2 separate regions of the Homo sapiens genome follow, and region 1 is linked to region 2. The links are contacts of gene promoters, found by promoter capture Hi-C in blood cells and fetal thymus (Javierre and others, 2016). All regions are on one chromosome and are shown on one strand. Each heading gives the region's core, a stretch centred on a gene start or on the middle of the fragment in contact. The rest is flanking DNA. Distances are from core to core; before and after follow the strand shown.

Evidence for each region. Contacts are between HindIII fragments. The CHiCAGO score rates a contact against its expected background, and 5 or more counts as called.
Region 1: a fragment that was not itself captured here is called in contact with the fragment with the promoter of CHASERR in region 2 in 1 of 17 cell types (total CD4 T cells); the score reaches 5.9 in total CD4 T cells.

What each region holds. Positions count from the first base shown.
Region 1 is chr15:81,294,352-81,297,374 of GRCh38, reverse strand. IL16 (interleukin 16) reads right to left here. Exons shown (of 19, transcript NM_172217.5): 13 at 297-447. Among named protein-coding and RNA genes, the nearest start is that of STARD5, 28 kb to the left of the region's middle. RefSeq lists enhancers at 1-177, 178-744. The HindIII fragment of the contact is 2,959 bases long and covers 294-3,023 here.
Region 2 is chr15:92,881,593-92,884,382 of GRCh38, reverse strand. CHASERR (CHD2 adjacent suppressive regulatory RNA) reads right to left here and starts at 1,540. Exons shown (of 6, transcript NR_037601.1): 1 at 1,197-1,540; 2 at 605-798. RefSeq lists silencers at 814-1,063, 1,684-1,813 and enhancers at 1,057-1,698, 2,124-2,213. The HindIII fragment of the contact is 7,161 bases long and covers 1-2,790 here.

The DNA.
Region 1 (3,023 bases), core at 524-3,023, about 12 Mb after region 2:
TGGGTGTGTCTTTGGACCTCTTCCAAGGGCTCCATCCTCCCAATTATCCAGAATGGCCTGCATTCCTGCTGCCACCCCCACAGCATCACCCGTCCACCCAGGAGGCTCCCCACCCTGGACAGCACCTCCACGGTGCTGCTGCCCAGCACCTGGAACCCTTGACTGTTGATCAGCCAGGTCCAGTGGTGATGTCAATGCAGAGCACTCTGATCCTCAGGCCAATTTGTGCTCTTATCTTATCCCTGCACCTTTTTTCAAAAGACCCTTCCTTTTGGAAGATCTCAATGAAAGCTTACCTGGGCTGGCTCTTCTCCACCCTGGCTCGCCCTCTGTGGAGGACTTGGTCTGTGGGCCGATACCAGGTCCTGGGCAGCCGGCAGAGGCACTAGGGCTTCTCCCTGCTGTGTCTTCCTGTGGTAGCAGCAGTGGCAGCAGCTCTCTCGCTTCCTGTGGTGTAAACAGGAAGCGAGACCATGTCAAAACGGTAGCCTCAAGCTGTGAGAAGGCGAGACACGCTTTGATTGGGACGGAAAAACGGATATTGAGCTGCTTTCAGTGAGAAGTTCATCAGCAGCCATGTAAAGAGGATTCTTTTCTCCTTGGTGCTGACGTGGCAGAGCCAGCACCTCCTAGACATGCAGAGCATCCCTTGACTTCCAGCAACCTGGTATCCAGGTCATGGGCTCATACTGTTGACATACTTGAAGACCCTGACTCTTTATGATAGGAACAAAAGGCTTTGAGTGTGGAGGGACTGGCATTGCTTCAGTTACAACTGCATCTGGTGAACTACCCACCCCGGGAGGGTATAGGGCAGCGTAGAAACAAGGCAGCAAAAAAACCTGGCAGCTAGTGTTCCCTAAGGTTAGAGCACTCAGGAAAATGCTTGTCAATTGCTGTCACTTGTTAAGCACTCTTCAAATATTTAGTAAGTGTTCTGCAAAAGATGACAGATACTCAGCACCTGTGCCATTGCTCCCCTCTGTGGCACCTAGGGTGACATCCTCAATCTGTTGCAGAATTGTTTCCACCACTGAGCCTGGATGCAGCCTTGGGGTCCTCCCAAAACAGCCTAGGGACAAGATGAACCAGGCTCTGAATAGCTATGCAATACTTGAAGAGTTTGGATTATCACACAGTGTGCTTAAGGTACTGTCAGGGCCCAGAGGAAACAGAGAGACCAGTTCCATCCCAGAGGTGGAGAAGGCTTCCTAGAGAAGTACTTTCTGTCTGCTTCATAAACAGAGTAAGAATTTTGCAGGCAGAGAGGCAGAAAAATAGTGTTCCAGAGACATAGCCCAACCAAACATAATACCCATCTGGAAAAAAAGATTGAGAAAGCAGACATCATCAAAATGATGCCACCTGTATTTGATTGTCTGCAAGAGAAATGCTTTGCTATACTGCGGTGGCCTCCACGTCCGGTTCATTCCAGATTTGTGTAATGATGGGCCATTTGACATGGCTGCAGGCTTCCTTCCAGAGAGGAAGGAAAGAGGAAGGAACAAATGCATCCTTTGGGACTAAAAAAGCAATGGCAAATATCCATGACCTGAAATTTAAGATCTACATTGACAATAAACATTTTGGAGGAAGCAAAGGTCTACAAAAGTTAGAAGTGTATTCACAGAGCATTGCCTCAGCTCGAGTTCCCTACTGTAGAACTGAGCTTTAGGAGAGCATTATGAAATACTGAGAGATCAACCAATTTCAAAGGAATCATTGAGCTTCTCGAACTAGCCCTTAAAAAAAGTAAGGCTGAGTCATGGCATTAGAAGCTCCAAATATTGGCCTGATGATCTCTAAGTCTCTTGTCCACAAGAGAAATTACATGGGGATGAAATTTAATTTCACCTGGTTGGGAGCTCTGTAAGTTGACATCTGTTGACATTCATGAATTGTTAGCTCTTTTACAGGCAGCCACATGTGATACCAACTGCAGTCAATGCAGCTTTACAACTTAGAACAGCACAAATGTGTTTTGTCTTTTCATCAACACATCCAATATTGCATCCTCTTCATGGGAGACTTCAGAATTAGCCCCTGAAATAAATTTGATTTTACACAAATTTTTCTCTTACTAGTGTTTCCTGGAACCATGCTTGGTGGATGAGGGAGGGAGAAGAGAAAGAAGGAAAGAGGGAGAGAGCAGATTCAGCATAGTGGGGAGAAAGTACGTTTTTGTTTGGTTTTTTTGTTTGTTTTCTAAGAAAGGATTCTTCGAAAATCCTGTTGTGTTTTTTTAAGCAAGTTTTTTAAAGCACGGGGGAGAGTTTAGGCTGATTTTTTATAAGAGGGATGTTAGTTTTTTGTTGAAGAAAATATCCCAAAGTTCATATTGGTTGTGAGAGTTAAGTCCCCTTGAATTAGAGTAGATGGGAAAGACTTGGGGGTCATCCATAGCAGCTTGACAACAGTCTTGGGACCCTGTAGAGAAAAGACTGCAGGGAGGGAAAAGTGGGAGAGTGAGACAGTGGACACTGTGGCCACGGAAGAAAACATCCAGTGAGAAATCCCCAGGAATGGTCAAGGAAATTTTGAGAGTGACCTCAAGCAAATTGCTTCCTGTTTTCTATTGCGTGCTATGATCCTTTCTCTGTGACCCCCGCCTCTCCAGTGCCCAATAAAATTATGTCGTGCTGATTGCTTTTATGGAAATGTTTGTGGGAGAAGGATCTGCTGGCCACGTGGGACAGACCAGAGCAAACAGAGGAGGGCAGCTGCAGAACGGCCTTGTCTCCAGGAGACGGTGCTGTTGGGGGCAGGTACAGGAGGGAGCCCTGTATTCTGCTGAGGCACACAGGGCATGAAAGATGACCTGTGGGAAGTTCCTTGCCTGGGCTTCCCTGAGGACACCCCAGTTCCTTCTCCAGACGCCTTACTCGGGAATATTCCCTGACCCTATGTGGCTCTGCCAAGGGCATCACTGGGACAGACCTGCTGTGGCAACTGCACTCCTTTTCTGGGCCTCCAGGAGGAAGGCAAAATGACTGGCTTCTCAGCTGGCTGCTCCTGATTTGCCC
Region 2 (2,790 bases), core at 291-2,790:
CTCTACTAAATTTTATGAAACCTGTACTTTTAAAATACTGTTCCGTTTTAAGCATATCTAGATTTTTATACATGCAACAAATGCAACAAATATGGCTCCTCTTCATCGCCCATTACCGAGAGCAGTCCTACTTTATTCATATTTACATTACGAGAAAGTAACTTCAGGAAGAGATTTGGTGTCAGAATGTTCTTTTGTGAAAGTTTTTCGATCATGGCTTGTGATAATATAAATTCTTAAAAATAATTAAATTATGAACTTTTAAAGACTAGGAATTGACCCAAGTACGTTCTAACATTCAGGTGTGAGAAGTTGCAGATAACGGCTCCTTGAGACCTTTTTAAAAAGTACCAAACAGTGTATTTAATCATATTTAAATATCAGGAGATCAAATGATCTTGGCGTCATTACTCGGTAAAATAAACTACATTAACCAAACGTCATCAGCTAGCTAGCACCGTAATTATCAAATCTATTTCCATTAAACAGCCTTGACGACACAGTAAACTTGTCTTCGTAATTCTGAAATACCAGAAGCACTCCTCCAACTTGCATTTTTCAAAGACAACCTTAACGTCATAAAGGTTTAATAAGCAGCAAGTACCTTCGCATGTATCACTGCAGCCGTTTCAAAATCGGCTTTGAAAGAGTTAAAAGCCAACACCCAATAGGAGGGAAAAAAACAAGTTTTATTTTTGTTGAAACGTAGTCAGGGTTCCATTGTTCTTTTAAATTCGATCATGAAGATGAGTTCCCACCTCACCGGAAAGAGGTTAAAAAGCTCCTCCGTTGGAGAACCTGAAAGGGATTTTTTTACCCTAAATATCAAAATAACTCACCAGGACAGAAAGGGGCTCTCCACGCCCGATCCCCTTCGGGCTCTCGCCGGCATTCACCCGCCGCCCCTTTCCCGGCGGATCCAGTCCCGGCGACGAGGCTGCCCCCCGCCCACCTGCCGCCCGCGGGCTCTGCAGCGGGGCCCCGCGTGCCCCCTACCCCAGGACCCTACGACTCGGGCCCAGGGCACCGAGGCGCATCCCGCCGGCGAGAGCCGGCCCCCGACCACGGAGGGGCAGTGCGAGAAGAGCCGAGCGGCGAGGCCCGGCCCGCCGCCCCCTCCTGCTCGCGCGCTCAAGGACATTTTGCTTTTCCTCCCAAGGACAAAGGACAATAAAAGGAGCTAGGGAGCCACTCACCGGGTCCGAGCGCGGCCACCGGCACCTCCTGGTCGCCCAAACCCGAGTCCCGGGCCGGACCGCCCGCCCGAGCCTCCCGCCCGCGCCGGGTCCAGCCGCCGGGGCCCGGGGGAGCCTCCGAGGCGGCAACCGCAGCGGCGCTTTCGGCGTCGTGGGCCCGGCCGCCCTGGGCGCCTCTGCCGCGGGCTGTGACGCCGACGCGCGCGGCCCGCCTCGCCTCAGCCGCGGCAGCCCCACTCCCGCGGGCCTGCTGGCCGTCCGGGCGTAGCTCCCCGCCGGCCGGCGGGCCTCGCGGCCGCGGCGGAACGCCTGACAGCTCGGGGTGCTGCTGCCTCTCCGGCCATCTTGTGCCGTGTGTGTGGTGTCTCTCTCCCGTCTCCTCTCTAGGCTTTACTCCCTCCTCCTCCTCCCCCCGCCCCACACACCACACAACATGGCCTCTTCGCTGCGGCGGCAGCGGCTGCGGCGGCGGCAGGAGCTCCGCCGCGCTCCAGCCCGCTCCCCTCCCCCACCATCCCCGCCTCCCGCCCGCAGGCCCGGGGGCCAACGCGCACGCGCGCCGCCGCCCGCCCGCCGCGGCCATTGGCTCCACGAGCTTCCTGCATCCCCTATCCGGGAGCGGCCTCACGCACGTTAGCTGGCGTCTTCCTCCCTCCCAACAACAACTTCTTCCATTCTATTGGTTAATTTCAACACCACCCCTTCCGCCTCCTTCGTGCGGATAGGCTGGCCTTAGTGCCATTCACTGTCCGTAGGCGTTTCTGGTTTTCTTGAGAAGCCCCGGGCCACGATTGGCTGGTGATGGAACCTTTGGGGTTGGAGCTGAGCTGTTGCTTTTTTCCCCGCAGTGCGGACCCCTCCAGGCTAGCTGGAGGGTTCCTGGTATGGTCTAGGCCAGGCTAGAATGGTTAGTGCAGGGTCGCACAAATAGTGGATTCGCGTCTAGAAAAAGCTCTGGCTTCGGTGTTTCTAGGTTCAGATTTTGTCTTTAAAAAAAGGGAAAGAAAAAAATGACTGACAGGATGATGAGCAAACAAGATACAGGCCCACAGCCCTTGGGCAAGCAGCCATATCCTCAAAATATTTGTTCTAAGCACCCAGGCCTTCCATGAAGGTCACACAGTCAGGACCAATGGTTTTACCATCAGCACATTCCCTAGCCCCAGTATCCGAGTTGAGATGCGATTTATTTGTGGATTTGTAGACTGCCTGTTGCGCATTTACCTGAGAGCCTAAAAGAATGTCTAGTGTCTTGTGAGCTGTCGTCATGGAAATCAAAAAAAACAATTAAAAAGAATGTCCAGTGTCCTGAGGCCTTAGCGAATCAATCTCAATACCGGTTGACTGGATTCCACCCTGTAGGACAATGTTTGTTAGAGTAGCAGTTTGAACCTGAAAAATCATAGTCTACCTTTTCAACCTCCTTCCAGAGAACCAGGCAAAACAAGTTTCATTTGCTTTCGGCAAATCTCACTTTTTTTTCGTTACTTCTTCCTACTTTAACGTGGAAACAACTCTAAGAAGACCATAGGAAAAAAATGAAAACCTAAACTTTCCTGAAATGGATGGGGAAAAAAAAAAGAGGTAGCTCTCT